6 separate regions of the Homo sapiens genome follow, and all the other regions are linked to region 2. Evidence: promoter capture Hi-C in 16 types of primary human blood cells and fetal thymus (Javierre and others, 2016). All regions are on one chromosome and are shown on one strand. The core of a region is centred on a gene start or on the middle of the fragment in contact, and the rest is flanking DNA. Distances in the headings are between cores, read along the strand shown.

Evidence for each region. Contacts are between HindIII fragments. The CHiCAGO score rates a contact against its expected background, and 5 or more counts as called.
Region 1: a contact is called between a fragment that was not itself captured here and the fragment with the promoter of CABLES1 in region 2, in 3 of 17 cell types (naive CD4 T cells, total CD8 T cells and naive B cells). The highest score is 7.1, in naive CD4 T cells.
Region 3: a contact is called between a fragment that was not itself captured here and the fragment with the promoter of CABLES1 in region 2, in 5 of 17 cell types (endothelial precursors, total CD8 T cells, megakaryocytes and 2 more). The highest score is 10.6, in endothelial precursors.
Region 4: a contact is called between a fragment that was not itself captured here and the fragment with the promoter of CABLES1 in region 2, in 3 of 17 cell types (endothelial precursors, megakaryocytes and total B cells). The highest score is 6.7, in endothelial precursors.
Region 5: a contact is called between a fragment that was not itself captured here and the fragment with the promoter of CABLES1 in region 2, in 1 of 17 cell types (total B cells). The highest score is 5.1, in total B cells.
Region 6: a fragment that was not itself captured here is called in contact with the fragment with the promoter of CABLES1 in region 2 in 5 of 17 cell types (megakaryocytes, endothelial precursors, M2 macrophages and 2 more); the score reaches 11.0 in megakaryocytes.

The regions. Positions count from the first base shown.
Region 1 is chr18:22,923,253-22,927,056 of GRCh38, forward strand. The region is part of intron 1 of RBBP8-AS1 (RBBP8 antisense RNA 1); the gene reads right to left. It also overlaps a transcript of RBBP8 not described here. Among named protein-coding and RNA genes, the nearest start is that of RBBP8, 8.2 kb to the right of the region's middle. The HindIII fragment of the contact is 632 bases long and covers 2,154-2,785 here.
Region 2 is chr18:23,133,846-23,137,512 of GRCh38, forward strand. It overlaps CABLES1 (Cdk5 and Abl enzyme substrate 1), which reads left to right and starts at 1,640. Exons shown (of 10, transcript NM_001100619.3): 1 at 1,640-2,762. The coding sequence starts at 1,918. RefSeq lists silencers at 439-528, 539-648, 1,409-1,488, 1,609-1,818, 1,949-2,158 and 3 more and an enhancer at 839-988. The HindIII fragment of the contact is 5,609 bases long and covers 1-3,574 here.
Region 3 is chr18:23,307,920-23,311,701 of GRCh38, forward strand. It overlaps SLC35D4 (solute carrier family 35 member D4), which reads right to left. Exons shown (of 15, transcript NM_032933.6): 14 at 1,761-1,825. Among named protein-coding and RNA genes, the nearest start is that of SLC35D4, 130 kb to the right of the region's middle. RefSeq lists enhancers at 1-67, 68-567. The HindIII fragment of the contact is 284 bases long and covers 1,616-1,899 here.
Region 4 is chr18:23,291,983-23,295,719 of GRCh38, forward strand. It overlaps a transcript of SLC35D4 not described here. Among named protein-coding and RNA genes, the nearest start is that of SLC35D4, 140 kb to the right of the region's middle. The HindIII fragment of the contact is 2,143 bases long and covers 310-2,452 here.
Region 5 is chr18:23,326,357-23,330,524 of GRCh38, forward strand. The region is part of intron 13 of SLC35D4 (solute carrier family 35 member D4); the gene reads right to left. Among named protein-coding and RNA genes, the nearest start is that of SLC35D4, 110 kb to the right of the region's middle. RefSeq lists an enhancer at 3,916-4,168. The HindIII fragment of the contact is 2,491 bases long and covers 1,488-3,978 here.
Region 6 is chr18:23,263,724-23,267,719 of GRCh38, forward strand. It overlaps a transcript of SLC35D4 not described here. Among named protein-coding and RNA genes, the nearest start is that of CABLES1, 130 kb to the left of the region's middle. RefSeq lists an enhancer at 3,560-3,649. The HindIII fragment of the contact is 6,403 bases long and covers 1-3,996 here.

The DNA.
Region 1 (3,804 bases), core at 1,220-3,719, 210 kb before region 2:
AAATTATTTGCTCAACAAGATTAGAATTAAAAATTAGAATTCATTCAGCAAATTAGATGGTGCAGCTGATGCCTTCCCAGTATCAACTTATACAAATACATTACTATACACTTGCAGTTATAGAACTCAACAATGATTCCCCACAGTATAGCCTTTGCACATGCCTTCTGCCTGGAAAGCCTTCTGCCATTCTTCTCCCAATAGGCAAGCTGCTTCAAATGTCTCTTAATTCTTCTTTAAGAAATTTCAAATATATTATTTCATTCTTACAACAACCCCTTTGAGCACAGTGAGTATTAATATCCTCTTTCAGTGAGGGAAATAAGACTTGTCTAGGAAACATGCAGATAATCAGAGATAGGGTCAGAATTTAATCTCTCATCCTATCTCCCAGCTCACGACTCTTTCCATAGTACAAGAAGGCTGGGAATATGGTTATATGCCAGCACTGACTGTAGAACATGATCACAATTTTTTGGAGCACTTCCTACTCTGTCCCTTCTGAGATTACAACATAATTTAAGACCCTTCAATCTACTTGATTTTAAATTTTGTACATGAAACAACTCACAACCAGGGCTGGGAAAGCTAGTATAACCATTGTTCTAATTCTATTAGAAGTAAATTTATATTCATTTCTCAAATGTACATATCTATTACAAGGCAAGTAAAAAAGCATATGTGCCAAAAATGCTAAGAAATAAATTAGCCTAAAAAATGAAGTGAGATGATTATAATAGGTGTTTCACTCCAATCCTGACTGAGAAAGTCCAGTTTATTTTCAGCTCTGAGGCTAATTAAATTACAATCAAATTTTAAAGTACTTTTAGTTACCTCCTACAGTGTAAAGCATTTTTTAGTTAGTTTGTTTTTGGTTTTTTTTTTTTTTTTTTTTGAGACGGAGTCTCACTCTGTCATCAGGCTGGAGTGCAGTGGTGCAATCTCAGGTCACTGCAACCTCTGCCTCCCTGGTTCAAGCAATTCTCCTGCCTCAGCCTCCTGAGTAGCTGGGACTACAGGTGCACACCACCACACCTGGCTAATTTTTGTGTTTTTAGTAGAGATGGGGTTTCACCACGTTGACGAGGATGGTCTTGATCTCTTGACCTCATGATCTGCCTGCCTCGGCCTCCCAAAGTGCTGGGATTACAGGCATGGGCCACTGCCCCCAGCCAAAGCTTTTTGAAGTAAAAAGAAAAATGTACTTGCTCTGTCACCCAGGTTGGAGTACAGTGCATGGCTCACTGCAGCCTCGTCTTCCTAGGCTCAAGAGATCTTCCCGCTTCAGCCTCCTGAGTAGCTGGGACCACAGGCATACACACCGTACCTGGCTAATTTGTTTTTATTTTTTATAGAAACAAAGCCTCACTATGTTGCCCAGGCTGGTCTCAAACTTCTGGGCTCAAGTGATCCTCCTGCCTTAGCCTCCCAAAATGCTGGGAGTACAGGCATGAGCCACTGCATCAGGCTCTGACCATATGGTTTACAGTCATCCAAACCAGGATGTTTTTTAAAGTAAAAGTGAGCTGTATTAATAATTAAGCTAGAGCAATAGGAATCAACCAGGACTGTCACTGGTAAGCTAGGGCATATGATCACCTCACATAAGAGGTCTACCATAACTGAGAAAAGGAAGGAAGCTTTTTTTTTTTTCTTTTTTTTGAGCCAGGGTCTCGCTTTGTCACCCAGAGTGTGAGCAAGGCTCACTGCAGCTTCGACCTCCTGGGCTCAAGCAATCCTCCCATCTTAGCCTCCCAAGTAGCTGAGGCTACACACAACACTGAACCCAGCTAGATTTATTTTTATTTTCTTGTAGAGACAGGGTCTTGTTATGTTGCCCAGGTTGGTCTCAAGCAATCCTCCCACCTAGACTTCCCAAAGTGCTGAGATTGTGGGCATGAGCTGCTGCACTTGGCCGGAAGCCTATCTATTTCAATTTTAGTATCCTAAATAGTCCACAAAAACAAACTGTCACCAAGAGTATGAACTGAATTAAAACACAATTTCACTGTACATTTTTAATCTTTCTGATTATAACTTACATAAAACTGAAAACATTTCTAGCTAAAACTCAGGATCTCCTTTAAGTACTGAACGTTGAACATAAAACATTTTTAAATTTTTTATTTTACCTTTGGAAAAGTAACTATCAAAGCTTCCTTAAACTTAGATTAACATGGATTAGAAAAAACAAAAAGCCAATATTTTAAACAAAGTCTTTTTTCTCAAGCATAATTAGAATAAAGACCAAAAAAAGACAGTGCGTTTAAAGATATATCTGTAATCTGTGAAGCACATAATTACATTAAAGATCACAACTATTTGCTGGCAGTGAATAAATCCATCAATTCACAGGTGAAAAAAATTAGTGTTTAAGATGCGATGATTTTTTCACATGGACAAAGCAATGAATATTAAACATGTTTGCTTGTGTGAACCTATCAAAGAATTCTTTAATTAATAGAATCCAAATGTCACTGACTTGTTCCGACGGTTAGCCCTTCATAATATTTTCCATTGCTGTAAATAAATATTACTCCCACAGCTTGTATCATGGTAGCATTATACATAGGTACAATGCAGTATAATACTTTAATAGACAAAATGGTAAAGATTTGTTTTTCGAGATTCTGAAAATAAAATAAACTTTTTTACTCTACAGTCTTAGTGATCACTCTTAAATTATCTTATTTTTTCAGCAGTTAAGTTCTGAGATCCTTTTAAGTGCCAGGGTTAGAAAAAAGGCTTATGGGCTAACCAACTAACAAAATTCCTGGGCTTCATAAGCTTATATGAATAGATACGAAATATTGTCCAAACAGCCACTGCATTATAAATAGATGACATGGAAGAAACAGGTGTCCCTTTCCATTCATAAGAAATCATTTTGCTGGCTGCGGTGGCTCACACCTGTAACCCCAGCACTTTGGGAGGCCAAGGCAGGTGGATCCCTTGAGGTCAGGAGTTCCAGACCAGCCTAGCCAAAATGGTGAAACCCTGTCTCTACTAAAAATACAAAAATTAGCCAGGCGTGGTGCCACATGTCTGTAATCCTAACTACTCAAGATGCTGAGGCAGGAGAATCACTTGAACCTGGGAGGCGGAGGTTGCAGTGAGCCAAGATCGTGCCACTGCACTCCAGCATGGGGGATAAGAGCAAGACTCTGTATCAAAATAAATAAATAAATAAAAAAGAAACCATTTTGCAAATAACAGATCAACAACGTTCTTCATCACCCCATTATAATTTAAACCTGGGCAACTATGAATATACTGTTTAACCTTCTTTATCAAGTATAAAGAGATAGTTCCTAAATCGGGCAAATTATGTGCCAGTAAAACTTTGGCCATTACTGATGGGAAATGAAGCAGCTTGGTGAATGATGTTTAAAAACAAACAGAAAACTATTTCAACAGATTAAAAAGGGAAACGAAGAAGGTATGAAGTCCAATGTAGCTAGAGTGAAGATCAAAATAAAGCTTCCTTATCTAAACTGGAAATTGGCCAGGCTACACGAGACTAATCTTTCTAATTAAAAAGCAAGGTATACTCTTTAATGTCCATTATGAGCATTTAAATGAACACCTAGAATATTGTCAAAATAAAAACTGTGATGCTGACATCTTCCACCAATGTTAAATATATATTTTTATACAATTATAAAACTTCTCAATCTGGAATCTTGGCACCATCAACTCAAATCATAAACAAAACATTTTGGCACTTGAGGCAAGATCACTGATTGATGTATACTCCCACTCACAAACAACACTTACTAATTACTGTAAACAACTTTTAAAAAA
Region 2 (3,667 bases), core at 390-2,889:
AAATTAAGTCAATTGTCATAAAAGGGCTTGGAAGTTTCAAGGTAGTTAGCCAAAATAATTAAAATCCTGGTGAAATTTCACAGAGCTGGCCATTGAGCTTTGACTCCACTGACATGAGGCTGCTGTAAACAGACACCAGGCTCCATGTTTTCAAAAGGCCTAAAAACAGCACAAAATAAAATATAACAACGATTGTTCATGTAAAGGGCCACGTGCCATCTCTGTCCTGAGCAAATGTAACCTGAAACCCTCTCTGTCTGGCACTCCGGGTTGGCGGCACCTCTCTGGACGGTGTATTTGCTCTCCATTACTCAATTTACTTTCCTGAACTTGAAATGGAGTGGAATTTCAATGTAGAGTTACCCATTAGCTCCAGGGCTAAATTTAAACCTTTAATTAAATTAATCCGTTGATCTGAAACACATTGCTTCTCCCTCAAAAGTGCAGCAGGTTTCTTAGGTGTCACAGAGCTTAATTCAGTGTGGCAATTGTTCCTTACTGCATTTGTTAAGTTGCCCATACCGCCTGGGGAAACCCGCACACGTTTTCAGATCCCTCCAGGTGAACTCCTCCACCCTGTCCCCGCCCCCGCCCCCACCCCCAACCAAAACAAGCATTCGTTGTGGGTGGGGACTGCGACTCCTCCCAGATTCAGAGCTACTGCTCTGGGAGGGCCGTCAGGAACCCGTATTTATAGAAGACATGGTAGGTGCCAAACGTGCTTATGAGATAAACGACAGGGTAACTGTCCACATTGGTCCCAGTTTATGAGGGAGAAGAGATCATAATCTACAAAAATTTGCAAGGTGACCAGGGGAAAAGAGTGTAAGGTCATTTTAGCCCACCTGGGTCTTCACAGAAAATGGAGCACATTTCAGAGCCAAAGTAAAAAATTTGCGTTGTCCTTTGCTAAGAGAGAGATGAAAAGTGACAATACCATGGATTGGGGATGCGTGAGTTCGTTGGCCACATGTAAGATGTTCGTGCTTCTGGGCTCTTATGCATCCCAAGGCGTGCATTTATCCCGGGGGCTGCATCCTTGGCCTGGGAATGAATAGACCCAACTGCAATGGTTGTTAGCGATAGCTTTACGGTGGGACAGTCTCCATAGGGGCTGTGGACTTACCCGTGTTATTATGAAAAGGATCTATTTACTTCTCGGGGACCAACGGCCTTGCGGGGTCCAAGTAACTCGCTCGCAGTCCAAAACTCTGCAACGCTCCACATAACCGTCCTGTAGACCCACAACTCTCCCAGGAGCACAGCCCCAGGACCTAACCCACCGGGTTCTGCTCGCTCACCCAATTCCCAGTGCGAGCGCGCGGGGGAAACGTGCTCGCCTCCCGCACCTGGCTTCCGCGGCCCCGGGAGTCGCCAACTCTCCCAGCAGGCAGCTCCGACAACCCGGACAGCCGGGCCGATCCCCCGCCCCACCACCCGCTCGGCTCTCGCGTCCTCCTCTTCCTCCTCCCGTGGCCCCTTGCCTCCCGCCGTCTGCCTCTGCGGCCGCCGCCTGCGGCTTTGTTTTCCTCCCAGGTCGCATTCCCCACACGTGATTCCGTGTTATTGCAAAGAGGGCTTTGGAGCGCGAGCGCGGGGCGCGCGCACCTATAAATACGGACACCCGGCCCCGGAGCCCGCGAGCCAGCGGCCAGGCGACCGGCGGGCGGCCAGCCAGCGAGCCGAACTAGCCGAGCTAGGTAGCGAGGCGTGCGCGTGGGCCGGGGCGGCGGCGCCCCCATCCCCAGCACCGAGGGGCGAGCATGGCCCGCCCGCGGGGGGGCTGGACCGCCGCGCACGCCGCCCGATCCCCGCGCCCTACCCAGCCCGGGTCGCCGCCGCTCGCGCCCGCCGCTTAGCGCTCGGGCGCCGCTCGCTTCTCCGGGCATCGCGGAAATCCCGCCGCAGACGGACACAATGGCGGCGGCGGCGGCGGCCGCCACCACGGCCGCCTGCAGCAGCGGCAGCGCCGGCACCGACGCCGCGGGCGCCAGCGGATTGCAGCAGCCGCCGCCGCAGCCCCAGCCTCAGCCCGCGGCCGCCGCGCCGGCCCAGCCGCCGCCCGAACCCCCCCGGAAGCCGCGCATGGACCCGCGGCGCCGCCAGGCTGCCCTCTCCTTCCTCACCAACATCTCGCTGGACGGCCGGCTGCCGCCGCAGGACGCGGAGTGGGGCGGTGGCGAGGAGGGCGGCGCGGCCAAGCCGGGCGCCGGCGGCGCCTGCGGCGCGAGGACTCGGTTCAGCTTGCTCGCCGCTGCCGAGCGGGGCGGCTGCATCGCGCTCGCCGCGCCGGGCACGCCGGCTGCGGGGTTAGCCGCTGGGTCCGGCCCCTGCCTCCCACAGCCCTCGTCGCTGCCGCCCTTGATTCCTGGCGGCCATGCGACCGTGTCCGGCCCCGGGGTGGCGCGGGGGTTCGCGAGTCCCCTGGGCGCCGGCCGGGCGTCGGGGGAGCAGTGGCAGCCGCCCCGGCCGGCGCCTCTCGCCGCCTGTGCCCAACTGCAGCTGCTCGACGGGTCCGGGGCCGCCGGGCAGGAGGAGTTGGAGGAGGACGATGCCTTTATCAGCGTGCAGGTGCCGGCGGCCGCCTTTTTGGGCTCCGGGACCCCCGGGAGTGGGAGCGGCAGTCGGGGACGCCTCAACTCGTTCACTCAGGGAATCCTGCCCATCGCCTTCTCCAGGCCGACTTCGCAGAACTACTGCTCCCTGGAGCAGCCAGGCCAGGGCGGCAGCACCAGCGCCTTCGAGCAGCTGCAGAGGTCCCGGTGAGTATCCGGGATGCGACGCGCACCCAACCCTGCGTCCCGCCCGGCGCTCCCAGCCTCCCCGCGGTCTCTGGGCTACGGGACACGGGTTGCTCCCATTTTCCCGCGCCCTGCCGGATCCTGTGCTCCGGGCCCGAATCCCAAACCACGAGGGCACCCAAAAGAGGGGGCGTCCCCAGGGAGTGCGGGGTTACACGTGTTTGCACGAGCCCAGCATTCGCAGAGGAGCACCGCGCTTGTGCAGTGGGTCGGGAATTGGGAGTTGCAGGAGCCCAGTAGAAAGCGGCGTCCGAGCCTCCCCACACGAGATCACAAACTTCCTGAAACCCGGTCCAGACCCGGAGGCGCACTCTTCCCCGCGTGGGGCGAGACTCGGCCGGGCGCAGAGTGGAGCAGTGCAGGCCGGCAGCTGAGCGGCGCGTGTGAGCCTGAACTTGTAGCAGACACGCGTGACCCTCCGGAGAAGTTCTTGCCTGCGCTCCAAGTCTTCTTGCGGCCCGGGGAAACTTGGCTTTTTCCATTTGCTTTCCTGAGCAATGGAAAGTCCTTCTTACATTGCCTCCAACTAGGCCTAGGGGGGTGGGGAACAAAGAGGAAATAGGGCTTGAGGGATTTTTTTCCTATTCCAAGATGAATTTGCTTGAGTTCGTTAAACGCTTGTTTTACTTGTTTGTTAGCTGAAGTTATCTGGCGGCATTAGGCGTCTTAGCAAAAACATGAAACGCTGGACGTTTGCTTATTGTTCAGGAAATAGAGTTTGTCACCATGTATTATTCTAAGGGGCAGTCGGAGGTTGGGACTGTGTGAACTGAAGCTTGCAAAAGAAGTAGGCGAGTAGGCGGGAACAGGTGGGGAAATGCAGATCCGTTCCTAGGGAGTGCCCTCCCTTGTTGGTTAATAAGGCC
Region 3 (3,782 bases), core at 508-3,007, 170 kb after region 2:
CTTCTGAAGAGCCTGCCTGTCCCGGTCTGCCCTGCTGAACACCACCCCACACCCAACTGTCTCCTGCATACCCCCAGGGTCCTGCGCACTGCTTCTGGGAGGGAGGCAGACCCTAATGGGCAGAAAGGAATGAATCTGGTCACAACAGTCAGAACTGTCAGGGAGGAAATTAGCAAGGCGACAGGAAAAAGCTAGCAGGGCTTGCACAGGATGTGGCCAGGGAAGCCTCTCTGAGGTCACCTCGATTTGAAGGCCTGGGGGATGAGCAGTAGTGGCCAACTGAAAGCAGGGAGGAAGGCATCCGGGCCGAAGTGACAGGCCCAGAAGCCCTGAGGAGACACATGTGTGCCATGGCCAAGGCACAGAAAGGCTCTCCCCTCCCCAGATCCGCAGGCTGATTTGGCGAACGATCTATTCCTGTATCTCCACTCTGTGGTCCAACAGGCACCTCAGCCTTCATACATTCAAACCAATGCCCAGTACGCCTCCACCACCACCTTGCCAAACCCTGCTCTTCACACAACATTCTCCATCTCAGTAAAGGCAACCTCATTCTTTCATTGCTCGGAACCCAAACCTAGAAGTCATCCTAGACTCCCCTCTCTCAAATCCTAGTGCCTCAGATATCCTACCATGTCTCCCCACCTCCACTGCTATCAGCCAGTTCTCAGCCATCATCATCTTGCACCTAGATCATGGCAAGAGCCCCTGGTCTTCTTGCTTCCTCCCCACCCCTTGGCACCGTTGTCCCCCAGCATCCCCATGGCTCACTCCCTCACTTCCTTCTGGTCTCTGCTCAGACAGCTTAGTGAGGCATGCTGTCTTTATGCAAATGGGTAGTGCATTCTAAACAGGATCATTTGGAGCTTATCTGAAAGTTAATGGAAAAATCAAAGAAATGGAAAGACACCCAAACACAGCACGTGTTTTCTCTCTCTCTCTCTCTCTCTCTCTCTCTGTGTGTGTGTGTGTGTGTGTGTGTATACAGTTGCCCCTCAGTACCTAAAGGGGATCTGTTCCAGGACGTCCATGGGTTGTCAAGTCTCTTATATAAAATGGTGTCGTGTTTGCCTACAACCCATGCACATCCTCCTGTATATTTTAAATCATCTCTAGATTACTTGTAATATCAAATACAATGTAAATGCTATGTAAATAGTTGTTATACTGTACTGTTTAGGAAATAATAACAAGAAAAAAAGTCTGTACATGTTCAGTACAGATGCAACCATTGCAGGCCTAAACTGCATTGTTGACCCACAGTTGGTTTAATCTGAGGATCTGGAACCTGTTCATGCAAAGGGCTGATTGTGTGTGTGTGTGTGTGTGTGTGTGTGTGTGTGTATAGTGGTTTACTAAACATTACATATTATTATACATATTATATTATACATATTATGCATATACATACATATATATACACATAGTGGTTGACCAGCAGTGGCTGCCCTGGGGTGGAGGAGTGAGGGTGATGTTCTGTTTCTTGCTCTGGATGCTGGTTATGGTATACAGAATGGTTGGTTTGTACAAATCCATCAAGTAGTATATTTATGATATATGCACTCTTCCCAATTTGTATTTACAGGTCAATACAAGTTTTTTTTTTTTTAAAGAAAGCTTCGCTAATATGAGATTTGCATTTGGATGGAGATACACAGCCAACGCACACTCCCTTTCTGCAACATTTGAGAGCAAAATTTAGTATCCTGATGAAACTCAGTAACTAATTGGCACTTTATCTCTCTATGCAAAAGACTTACCATCCCGTGGTTGCACTGGTCAGGATCGCATCAAACAGCAATATTGATAAGCCAGCTGTGATTATCTGTAGAAATAATTTCAACACAAGGTCATCATACCAGCAGGGCTCTGGAAACCTCCAATGTCATTTTTTTCACAAGCTTAGCTCACTTGAGTTCGGATGCCTGCCATCAGGCACTTCGTTCCACTTCCCGTGTCCTTTTCCCCACACGCTTCCTAGTCAGCCCCCTGTACTTAGCGGTGCCTCTGAGCCAAGCATTTGGTGTAGAAAAGGCTAAGTCTTAGTCTGTTTTGGAGGTGAGAATGTTCAAAGAAGCATTTAACTTCCAAATTCTTCAAAAGGGAGGCGCACAGCCAAGGCCGCCCTCATCTCTCTCCAGGGAAGGGGTATATTAAGAAAACTCATTTCCATTTTGTCTCAGCAGTGCAGAACTCGTCTCCAAGGTCAGATGTGCTCATTAACCTGTTCTCGGATCCTCCAGATAAAAACTTATCTGTCACCCAGCCTTTGTCCAATGCACCATCTCTCCGTCCTCACCTAATGCTCCCATCTTTCTGATCCATGACACATTCTAAGAAACCAGGTGCATCCTGGGGAAAGGAGTGATTAAATCATTAATTAATTATTTGCAAATATCTAGAAGCCAGAGGAGAGGGAAGAGGTTACCTCCACATCTCTCAAGGCTGGAAATTCCAGAAAGGTGTCTCAGGAATGGCAGCCACAGGACTCAGACCCCAGAAGTGCCTCGAACCCCCCAGCACCAAGAGAGTGTGTGAACCAGTGGCCCCGCTCTGTCCACACTTGGAATGTCTGCTTAAGGAAAGATGTTTCTGGCTTCCAGTCTTCCACATCCTGCAGGTCAAAACAGCTTCCATGGGGAAGGTAAGCTTAAGAAACTGCTTTCTTGCAGTGAGAGGTGGGATGTAGGCCAGGTTGGGAGAGGTTCAGCTACCATCTCCCTCAAGGGGATTTCATGTGCTGTCTTGGAGGCCTCTTTGGGTCTCCAAGCTGGGAGCAAGGCAGCAGACAGACAAGCAGAAGGAAGGAGTATGTTTATGAACCTCATCGTCACGCATTACCATCTCAGAAAGAAGTCTGGAACTACAAATACAGAATTCTCATGATAGGATATAAACATGGTGAGATTTTGGAACTTTTCTTTGTAGTTAAGTCATTTGGTATCACTTTCTGCCTCGCTTTATTGATTTGTAGCAAAAACCTTGATTACAAAAAAAGACCTGGGTATTGTCCTCAGGGGCAATAAAGAAGTAGAAGCCCAGCCAGACAGACAATTACAAGAATACAAAGGATAGGGAAAGAGATTTCTCTAAGTGGAGACTAGTGGTGGCTTTTTCTCAAAGATCATATTGAATGACAACTTTTGAGCTGATGCGCATGATGAATGTCCCTCTTTTCTCTTCCCTTTTTTTTTTTTTTTGAGACAGGGTCTCGCTTTGTCGCCCAGGCTGGAGTGCAGTGGCGTGATCTCAGCTCACTGTAGCCTCGACCTCCCAGGACTCAAGCACTCCTCCCGAGTAGCTGGGCCTATAGGCATACACTGCCACACCCAGCTAATTTTTAATATTTGTTTGTAGAGACAACGTCTCACTTTGTTGCCCAGGCTGGTCTTGAACTCCTGGGCTCAAGCAATCCCACCCGCCTTGGCCTCCCAAAGTGCTGGAATTATAGGCGTGAGCCACCGTGCCTGGCCCTTCTTTTTTTTTTTTTTATTAACATTTAATTTAGGACTTCTGCATCTATGGTCATAAATGAAGTGGACTAAAATGTTATTACCTCTCAATGCAATTGTCTGGTCTTGGAAACAATGTTGTACTAACCACATAAGTGAGTTCATCAGCTTCTCTGCTTATTATCCTGCAACAGTTATAGATGATCTTGACTCTGAAAGTTACCCGTGACTTGAAGGCCCCTGGATCTAGATCTCCTAGCTGGGGGTGATCTTTAATAGCTATTAGCCTAATCAAGTCTTCTCTTTCTCATTGTTGCATATTTTCCATTT
Region 4 (3,737 bases), core at 131-2,630, 160 kb after region 2:
TCAAAGGACCATTAAGTAACTTCAAATGAGTCCCAGCCACTTGAACTTCCAGCCAATTCCATATCCTATTTCAATACTTTGTCCAAGGCAACTTCTCAATAGAGATGTCATGTTCCAAGTATGACTAACTGCTTATGGTATTACCTGCTTGTGCTTTCACCCCAATCTGTGACTGTACTCCCTTTTTTGGGCATGCAGACCCAGTGAAAAGAATGGTGTCCTCTCCTGACATTGTCTCTCAGGGTCTGGAAGCTTTTCCTTCAATCTTCGAGCTCCTCACCTATCTGAACATGCCATTGCCTGCAACCAAGCTTGAGAACCAACAAACAGTGGCTGCGGGTTCTGGAAACACGCAGAGTGATAGTTCAGGTGAGAGCAGTGCCATTTCCCCAGTGCTCCTGGTTGCTCCAACCCCATTCACGAAGAGTCTCAGACAGAACCTGAGGGAGGAGGCTGGGGAAAGAAACTGGGACACTCTGGGAAGGCAGCTGCAGTGCAGGCCACAGACCCTGCCCGGTGGCAAAGGGAAGGAGCATGGCCTTCAGGAAGAGTCACAAATCACCTCAGAGATGTGAGGAATCCACACCTCAGCACTTCTTGGAGAACTGACAACCCCTGTGAAACACGGGGACCTCATTTCTCCTTCTCAACAGAACTCTCTAGCATGAAGGTTGAAAGCATGGGCTTTGAATAACCTAGATTCGAGTCCCAGCTGGGTGGGCCTGGAAAAGTTACTGAGTCTTTCTGATCTCCTTGGTAAAATGAAGAGAATGTCCCCTGCACTACCATTGGGAAGAATCAATGACAGGGAGCCTGGAGAGTACCCAGCACAATGCTTGGCATGAAATAGGCACCAGTAACTATAATCTTAAATATTATTATTGGGTCAGTAACCCCAGCAACCACCACCAACACCCCCTTCTTTTGCCACTTCCCTGGGCCCAGTGTAGATGAACTGCTCTAAATCAGCAATAAGGCCAGGCGTGGTGGCTCACGCCTATAATCCCAGCACTTTGGGAGGCCGAGGTGGGCGGATCACTTGAAGTCAGGAGTTCGGGACCAGCCTGACCAATGTTGTGAAACCCCATCTCTACTAAAAAGAAAATACAAAAGTAGCCAGGCTTGGTGGTGCATGCCTGTAATCCCAGCTACTTGGGAGGCAGAGGCAGGAGAATCGCTTGAACCTGGGAGGTAGAGGTTGCAGTGAGCCGAGATCGCGCCATTGCACTCCAGCCTGGGTGACAAGAGCGAAACTCCATCTCAAAAATAAATGAATGAATGAATGAATATAAATCAGCCATGACCAACAGACATATCATGGGAGCCACATCTATAAACTAAAATTTTCTAGCAGCCACGTTACAAAAGGTAAAGGGAAACAGGAGAAAGTAATGTTGATAGTACATTTTATTTAGCCCAATATATAAAAAATATTATTTCAACATGTAATCAATAGAAAAATGATGTGATATTTTACATTCTTTTTAAAAAATATTAAGTCTTTGAAACCAGTGTGTTCTTACACTTACAGCCCATCTGAATTTGGCCCAACCACACTCCAGTGCTCCAAAGCCATAGATGGCCAGGGGCATCCACACTGGACAGCACAGGGCTAGAGGCACTGGGTGGGCCCTTCTCTATTTCAAGCTCAGTGGTCTGGATGTGGGCAGAAAGAGGAGTCTGGATCTGGGTTAAAGCTACAAGAACTCCCTCCCCAGGGTTAACACCAATATTTTCTGTAACACTCCCCTGCCGGTATTGAAGAGAACAGAAAGAAGGGCAAAGGAAAGAAAATAAACAATTTATTTTTCTTTTATTGTTATTTTTAGAGACAGAGTTTGGCTCTGTTGCCCAGGCTGGAGTGCAGTGGCACAGTCATGGCTCATTGCAACCTTGACCCCTGAGCTCAAGCAATCCTTCTGCCTCAGCCTCCTGAGTAGCTGGGACTTACAGGCGTGAGCCACCATGCCTGGCTAATTTTTATTTTTTATTTTTGTAGCGATGGAGGTTCACTGTGTTGCCCAGACTGGTCTCAAACTCCTGGGTTCAATCAATCCTCCCACCTCAGCCTCCTAAAGTGCTGGGATTACAGGCTTGAGCCACCGTGACTGGCCCTTATTTTTCTTTATATCCACAGCATATTAGTAATAATACACCATTGTACACAACCTTGCCTCTCCTAATAGAAAGCACGTTCTTTCTTTATAGAAATAAAAGAAAAAAACCCAAATCCCAAGGCTCTGACTGAGGTCCAGCAAGGATTAAGGTCATCAGGTACCAAACAGGATCCAAGGGTAAATAAAGGGAGAGTGTGGGCTTACCTGGAGACTCCCTAAGCAGAAAATGAGAGCTTGGGGCTACAGTGAGGGGGCCACTCCACTGTTCAGGTCTGTGGGCTCATCCTTCATTCAGCGCTGAGCACGTGAATTTGGGCATAGAAGATGGTGGTTAAAGCTTGAATAAAAAGGCCCAAGAACCAATAGAAACTGACGGAAACTGATAGCATACTGACAAAACACCTTATCCTCTGCCTCTTGCTGGTGTCAATGTAAGAAAAGATCTGAGATTTTAAGAACAACAGGCAGGGGGCAACATAGTGAGACCCCATCTCTACAAAGAATAAAAAATTAGCTGGGTGGAGTGGTACGTGCCTGTAGTCCCAGGCACTTGGGAGGCTGGGGTGGGAGGACTGCTTGAGCCTGGGAGGTTGAAGCTGCAGTGAGCTGTGACTGCACCACTGCACTCGAGCCTGGGTAACACAGTGAACCCCTATCTCAAGCAAACGAAACAAAACAACAAACAAACCAAAAAACAAAGAGGACTCTGAAAGGTGTTTCAAACAACCAAACGAAAACAAATACAGGCTTGCTAGAGAACTATTTGAAAAAGGATCTAAAACTTCTCAGCCAAAGCTTTTGGGGCCAGTTCTGCTGGAAAGAGGACTGGGTTTAAACTGCATGGCTCTTTGCAGTCATCAGAACCTCCATTTGCTTAAATGGCACTTGGAAAGACAGGTATAAAATGACACTTGGACAGATGCCACTTTCTGCAAGTGGAAAAGAACTGGTCTCCATTGTATAGAGTTTTACAGGAGCAAGAGAATAAGGACAATTCTAAACCCAGATTTTCTATTTGACCCTCAGTCTCTAGAAAGTTTGACATCCTAGATGAAGAACAAAAGTAAGTTGAACACGGACACAGAGAGAGGAACAACATACACCGGGCCTGTCGGGGGGTGGGGAGGGAGGGAGAATATTAGGAAAAATAGCCAATGCATGCTGGGCTTAATATCTAGGTGACTGGTGGATAGGTGCAGCAAACCACCACGGCACACATTTACCTACGTAACAAACCCGCACATGTACCCCAGAATTAAAAATAAAAAAAATTTAAATTAAAAAAGTAGAGACTCTTCAAAGTGAGAAGGTATGTCAGGCAGCTACTATTATTTTTCCTCCAAATTAATAAGTGTAAGGTACCTGTTTAATCAGCTGGAGGTTAGAAAAAAAATAATATAAATATTTTTCATGGAAACAAACAAGACAAAACAACAACAACAAAAGTAAGTTGAAAGCCATATGTGTTAAGGTCACTCTTAGCATTTTTACCTTACATGACAAGCAGAGACCAGGAAAAGACAAGGACATGAATTTAAGGTACTCAAGTTCCAAATACACGAATCCATTGCTAGTTGTTTCTTTTTCTCTCTTTTCTCAACAAGTTGGGGAACACATGCA
Region 5 (4,168 bases), core at 1,483-3,982, 190 kb after region 2:
GATCTACCAAGCAAATGGAAAGAAAAAAAAGCACAGGTTGCAATCCTAGTCTCTGACAAAACAGACTTTAAACCAACAAAGTTCAAAAGAGACAAAGAAGTCCATTACATAATGGTAAAGGGATCAATTCAACAAGAAGAGCTAACTATCCTAAATATATATGCACCCAATACAGGAGCACCCATATTCATAAAGCAAGTCCTTAGAGACCTACAAAGAGACTTAGACTCCCACACAATAATAATGGGAGATTTTAACACCCCACTGTCAATATTAAACAGATCAACAAGACAGAAGGTTAACAAGGATATCCAGGACTTGAACTCAGCTCTGCCACAAGCAGACCTAATAGACATCTACAGAACTCTCCACCCCAAATCAACAGAATACACATTCTTCTCAGCACCACATTGCACGTATTCTAAAATTGATCACATAATTGGAAGTAAAGCACTCCTCAGCAAATGTAAAAGAACAGAAATCACAACAAACTGTCTCTCAGACCACAGTGCAATCAAATTAGAACTCAGGATTAAGAAACTCACTCAAAACCGCACAACTGGAAACTGAACAACTTGCTCCTGAATGACTACTGGGTAAATAATGAAATGAAGGCAGAAATAAAGATGTGCTTTGAAACCAATAAGAACAAAGACACAATGTACCAGAATCTCTGGGACACATTTAAAGCAGTATGTAGAGGGAAATTTATAGCACTAAATGCCCACAAGAGAAAGCAGGAAAGATCTAAAATCAACACCCTAACATCATAATTAAAAGAACTGGAAAAGCAAGAACAAACAAATTCAAAAACTAGCAGAAGGCAAGAAATAACTAAGATCAGAGCAGAACTGAAGGAGATAGAGACACAAAAAACCCTTCAAAAAAATCAATGAATCCAGGAGCTGGTTTTTTGAAAAGATCAACAAAACTGATAGACCACTAGCAAGATTAATAAAGAAGAAAAGAGAGAAGAATCAAATAGATGCAATAAAAAATGATAAAGGGGATATCACCACTGATCCCACAGAAATACAAACTACCACCAGAGAATACTATAAACACCTCTACGCAAATAAACTAGAAAATCTAGAAGAAATGGATAAATTCCTGGACACATACACCCTCCCAAGACTAAACCAGGAAGAAGTTGAATCTCTGAATAGACCAATAACAGGCTCTGAAATTGAGGCAATAATTAATAGCCTACCAACCAAAAAGAGTCCAGGACCAGACGGATTCACAGCCAAATTCTACCAGAGGTACAAAGAGGAGCTGGTACCATTCCTTCTGAAACTATTCCAATCAATAGAAAAAAAAATAGGGAATCCTCTAAAACTCATTTTATGAGGGCAGCATCATCCTGATACCAAAGCTTGGCAGAGACACAACAAAAAAAGAGAATTTTAGACCAATATCCCTGATGAACATCAATGCAAAAATCCTCAATAAAATACTGGCAAACCGAATCCAGCAGCACATCAAAAAGCTTATCCGCCATGATCAAGTCGGCTTCATCCCTGGGATGCAAGGCTGATTCAACATACGCAAATCAATAAAGTAATCCATCACATGAACAGAACTAACAACAAAAACCACATGATTATCTCAATAGATGCAGAAAAGGCCTTTGACAAAATTCAACAACGCTTCATGCTAAAAACTCTCAATAAATTAGGTATTGATGGGACGTATCTCAAAATAGTAAGAGCTATTTATGACAAACCTACAGCCAATATCATACTGAATGGGCAAAAACTGGAAGCATTCCCTTTGAAAACTGGCACAAGACAGGGATGCCCTCTCTCACCACTCCTGTTCAACATAGTGTTGGAAGTTCTGGCCAGGGCAATCAGGCAGGAGAAAGAAATAAAGGGTATTCAATTAGGAAAAGAGGAAGTCAAATTGTCTCTATTTGCAGATGACATGGTTGTATATTTAGAAAACCCCATTGTCTCAGCTCAAAATCTCCTTAAGCTGATAAGCAACTTCCGGAAAGTCTCAGGATACAAAATCAATGTGCAAAAATCATAAGCATTCCTATACACCAATAATAGATAAACAGAGAGCCAAATCATGAGTGAAGTCCCATTCACAATTGCTACAAAGAGAATAAAATACCTAGGAATCCAACTCACAAGGGATGTAAAGGACCTCCTCAAGGAGAACTACATACCACTGCTCAACAAAATAAAAGAGGACACAAACAAATGGAAGAATATTCCATGCTCATGGATAGGAAGAATCAATATCGTGAAAATGGCCATACTGCCCAAGGTAATTTATAGATTCAATGCCATCCCCATCAAGCTACCAATGACTTTCTTCACAGAATTGGAAAAAAACTACTTTAAAGTTCATATGGAATCAAAAAAGAGCCCGCATTGCCAAGACAATCCTAAGCCAAAAGAACAAAGCTGGAGGCATCACGCTACCTGACTTCAAACTATACTACAAGGCTACAGTAATCAAAACAGCACAGTACTGGTACCAAAACAGAGATATAGACCAATAGAACAGGACAGAGGCCTCATAAATAACACCACACATCTACAACCATCTGATCTTTGACAAACCTGTCAAAAACAAGAAACAGGGAAAAGATTCCCTATTTAATAAATGGTGCTGGGAAAACTGGCTAGCCATATGTAGAAAGCTGAAACTGGATCCCTTCCTTACACCTTATACAAAAATTAATTCAAGATGGACTAAAGACTTAAATGTTAGACCTAAAACCATAAAAACCCTAGAAGAAAACCTAGGCAATACCATTCAGGACATAGGCATGGGCAAGGACTTCATGACTAAAACACCACAAGCAATGGCAGCAAAAGCCAAAATTGACAAATGGGATCTAATTAAACTAAAGAGCTTCTGTATGGCAAAAGAAAATACCATCAGAGTGAACAGGCAACCTACAGAATGGGAGAAAATTTTTGCAATCTATCCTTCTGACAAAGGGCTAATATCCAGAGTCTACAAAGAACTCAAACAAATTTACAAGAAAAAAACAAACCACCCCATCAATAAGTGGGCAAAGGATGTAACAGACACTTCTCAAAAGAAGACATCTATGCAGCCAACAGACACATGAAAAAATGCTCATCATCACTGGTCATCAGAGAAATGCAAATCAAAACTACAATGAGATACCATCTCATGCCAGTTAGAATGGCAATCATTAAAAAGTCGGGAAACAACAGATGCTGGAGAGGATGTGGAGAAATAGGAACGCTTTTACACTGTTGGTGGGAGTGTAAATTAGTTCAACCATTGTGGAAGACAGTGTGGCGATTCCTCAAGGATCTAGAATTAGAATTACCATTTGACCCAGCAATCCTATTACTGGGTATATACCCAAAGGATTATAAATCATGGTACTATAAAGACACATGCACATGTATGTTTATTGCAGCACTATTCACAATAGCAAAGACTTGGAACTAACCCCAATGTCCATCAATGACAGACTGGATTAAGAAACTGTGGCACATATATACCATGGAATACTATGCAGCCATAAAAAGGATGAGTTAATGTCCTTTGCACGACATGGATGAAGCTGGAAACCATCAATCTGAGCTATCACAAGGATAGAAAACCAAACACAACATGTTTTCTCTCAGGTGGGAACTGAACAATGAGATCACTTGGACACAGGGTGGGGAACACCACACAACGGGGCCTGTCGGGGATGGGAGGCTGGGGGAAGGATAGCATTAGGAGAAATACCTAATGTAAATGATGAGTTGATGGGTGCAGCAAACCAACATGGCAGGTGTATACCTATGCATCAGATTTGCATGTTGCGCACATGTACCCTAGAACCTAAAGTATAAAAAAAAAGAACAAAAAAAGAAACCCAACAGGTGAAGAACAATCCCATTTCTGTAAAAACAGAAAACCTCAGGAATGTGTGTATAAAAAAAATTTCCCAAAGAATATACTCTAAAATGTCTATTATGGTAGAGTCCCATAAGCTTTTTTTTCATTTACTTTCTACATGTTCTATAATTAGCCTTTTGAACTTTTTAAATGAAGATAGTGGACTAAATGGTTTCTAAGGTTTTTTTTCTAGAGATGTCATGGGTCAAAATTAAAGTCACAAGTTAAGGGGAAAGTTATTTGCTTCAATAATGGTGAATACCCCCTACATTAAATACCTACA
Region 6 (3,996 bases), core at 886-3,385, 130 kb after region 2:
TAAGGCTAAGCCAAGCATACCTTGGCCAGGCGGTCAGTTGGCAAGGATGGCCACATCACACAGAGAATGGTTCAGGGATTACGAGCTGTCTGAGACTATTCATGTCTCAGCCCCCAAATGTCACAGAAAGACTTTGATTCACTGCCACTTGCAGAGCACAGGCCCTAGTCAGATGTGTCAGGTGCGCTGAAAGGCACCTCCATAGTCCTTAACTGCTGCTGTAGACCAAAGGGTTCAGCAGAGCAGGACTGGATTCCATCACCATGAACTCGAGCACCTATCACAGGGCCTGGTACACAGAATTCACCAAATAAACACTGGTTGAGTTAAATGAGCCATCGCAAAACAAATTACCCCACTGGGTGGATTGTTCCCTGCAACTCTGAATCAGCTTTCTGCTCAGCATCTGTGTTAGAGAGTTCTTGCATTGCTATAAAGAAATGCTTGAGACTGGGTAATTTACAAAGAAAAGAGGCTTAATTGCCTGCTGGTTCTGCAGGTGCCAGTGTCTGCTCAGCTTCTGGAGAGGCCTCAGGGAGCTTTTATTCATGCCAGAAGGCAAAGCGGGAACAGGCACGCTACACAGCAAAACAGGAGCAAGAGGGGTGGGAAGGTGCCACACTTTATTCCTTTTTTTTTTTTTTTTTTTTTTTTTTTGAGACGGAGTCTCGCCCTATCACCCAGGCTGGAGTGCAGTGGTGCGATCTCGGCTCACTGCAACCTCTGCCTCCCAGGTTCAAGCGATTCTCCTGCCCCAGCCTCCTGAGTAGCTGGGATCACAGGCGCGCGCCACTACGCCCGGCTAATTTTTGTATTTTTAGTAGAGACAGGGTTTCACTATGTTGGTCAGGCTGGTCTCGAACTCTTGACCTCGTGATCCGTCTGCCTCGGCCTCCCAAAGTGCTGGGATTATAGGCATGAGCCACCGTGCCCAGCCGTCATTTTTTTATTTTGAGACAGGTTCTCACTCTATTGCCCAGGTGGAGAGCAGGGGTGCAATCATGGCTTGCTGCAGGCTCAATCGACTCTCCCACCTCAGTCTCCCAAATAGGCTGGGATTACAGGTGCATCACGCCACGCCCAGCTGATTTTTGTATTTTTTGTAGAGATGAGGTTTCACCATGTTGCTCAGGCTGGTTTCAAACTTGTGGGCTCAAGCGATCCTCCCATCTCAGCCACCCAAATTACCGGGATTACAAGCATGAGCCACCGTGCCCGGCCTACACTTTTAAATAACCAGATCTCGTGAGGATTCACTCACTATCGTGAGGACAGCACCAAGCTATTCATGAGGGATCCACCCCCATGACCCAAACATCTCCCACCAGGCCCCACCTACAACATTAGGAATTACTTTTCAACATGAAATTTGGGTGGGGATAAATATCCAGCCACATCCGCATCTCACTCAGGGCTGACTCTGCAGATCCCAGCACCCAGGTTTCCTTGCCCTCCAGCTTCTGGTTAGGCTCTGGAAGGAGAGACACTGACCAGAAATGAGAGAGCAGGAGGAGAACGGGAACTGGGGTGTGTGTTCCACGGCCCAGCCTCCACCCCAGCCAAGGGGCCCTGCTAGTCCCGGGATCTCACCACCCCTTCTTGGACAGTTCCTTCACTAAACTCACTCAATTTCTCCCAATGCACGAGCCATCAAGTTCATGCTGTGGCTTTGGCCAATACACCCAGTTGGCAGAGTAGGAAACGGTGTCTCATCAAGTACGGGCAATCTGGGGTTGTCTATAACCCCAAAGCATTCTGGAAACAAGCAGTAGGAATCGTCCCCCCAAAGCACCAAGAATGGATAGGAACAGTCAAAAATATCACATGGCTCTCAAAAAAAAAAAAAAAAACCAGAAAGGAAAAAAGTTTGGCTACAATGACCCTGGCCTTGAAGCAGCCCAATGGGCACTTCCCACCAGCCCAGACCCCTCCCAACAGCTGCCGTGGCCCCACTGAGACTTTGGAGTTCTTGGGAGTTCTCTTATGAGGGTCATCTGAACAGAAGCTGATCATAAAAGATGACCAAAAAGAAATCTCTCTCCCCACTGGAGAGGGTGGATGGCACACTCTGCCGGAACCACTTGCTATAAATTATTTTTTAAAAATCGTGGCTTCCAGAAAAAGGAAGCAGATCGCCTCTGAGGCTTATCTAGAAGGCCCTGATGAAGCATACATACTGTTCTATGAGTGTCTAAGCCAGATACCATGTTCCCTAAGGCAGCTGCCTTCTCCATGAAATCAATTTTCATTTTTATTTATAAAATAAAAACAAGACACAAATGAGAATTGCTTACTTTCCCCCCTTCTTTCCAGTATGTGTTGGAGAGAGTGACAGATACTCTCAGGGGAAGCCTCAGGGGAAGCCTGGGGCCAGAACGGTTTTTGGAAAAATATGCAGCCGGAAGGGGCCATTTCTCAGAAGCAGCCCTTAGGGAGCCCAGGGGCAGCTGACACTAGGAGGAGCAGGCACTGGAAGGCAGGAAAAGGTTCCAGAGCTAGGCAGACCGTGCGGCCTTATGCAAGCCACTGGCCAGCCCATGCCTGCTGGGGGTCATAGTACCTCCCATCAGAGGGACTCTGGAAGATGGCACAGTAAACCCCTGGCCCAGGGCCTGGCATACAGTAGGCACTCAATAGATGAAAACAATTACTATTTTTACCTCCATTGAACTTAATTCTTAGCAAAAAAAAAAAAAAAAACAAATCCTGCTTTATAGAGAAAGAGATTGGAGCACAGATAGGTGCCTAGGGCCAAATTTGGACCATAAAATACATTCAGATTCCATTCCGTTCTTGTCCCCCACTGCTCAGGCAGAGTGTCGGTGACAACTCAGGGAATGCAGGAGCTGGGACCGGTGATGTCCTTGAAGAGGCACAGTGGTCTCTTCAACCAGGTGGCTTCACAGCCATTAGCCAACAAATGGACTTCAGGTGTTTTTCTGCTTTCTTGAAACCAAATTCCCCCAGGTGCTTACTTGAGCAGCTCAATGGGGTGATTATGAGGCCCCTGTGGCCTTGAGGCTTCCTCTCCAGTGATGACAAGGTCGCCTGGCCAACTCACCTGGACAGCTGCCCTCAAACGTGGCCCTTGGAGCCCCCTCAGCGGCACCCGCCCTGCAGAGCAGCTTGTTGGATTCTCTCACTCTCCTCCCCCAGAGAGGCTCCCTCGCCGAAGCTCAGGGAGTGACTCCTGGTTCGCTGATGAGGGGCTGGTGGGCTGCCTTGCCTGCTGGTCTGTGTCCCCACCTAGCCTAGGCCCCCCACTCCAGGGCAGAGCATCCGACCAACAGACCACAGAGGTAGAGCTGTGCCCACACTCTGCCCTAAACCGCATCTGCATGGGGCCTGACCCAGAAGAAGGTGCTTGCCCTGCCGCCCCACAGTGAGAGCTCTAAACCAGAGCCTGGCTGAAAATGGGGCTGCCCCTTGCTGCTGACTTGAGGAACCGGGGGCAGTTTTGTGAGACGCGATGTGGCCTCACCTCATTCCTGGTAAGATTCAGCCACATTCTTCACTGACACCACCCTCGGTCTCTTCCGCTGTCCAGCGTGCACATGGCCTCAGGACACCACTGGGGGTTGCAGGTGAATTTCAGGGTGTCTATGACACACTGCCAAGCCCACGCTCCTCTCAAGTTCAGCTCAGACTCTATAGGCTCTTCTGAACGGGCGCTTCCTGCCCCTTCCACCTGTCCCGTGCCAGCCCTGGTGGCTCTCTAGGTTGTTCTGCACTCCCTCCACCCCGGCCCACTTCCTGCCCCCAATCTTCTCAATAGGGACTTGCTTTCCTCCCCCCAGGACACTCCTCTAGCTCTTGTTCTGTGCCACACAGTTGCTCTTCCTGCTGCCTCTGTCATGGCTCTCCGGCTGCCCACTCCCTGCACTGTCGGCCCTCAGCCAGCTTCTCCCTAAAGTGCCTCCTTCCCTTCGCCCTGACTCTGTCCCGTTCCTCTGCACCTCTGCTTCACATCTGGGGTCCCCTGCCCCATCCTCTTTC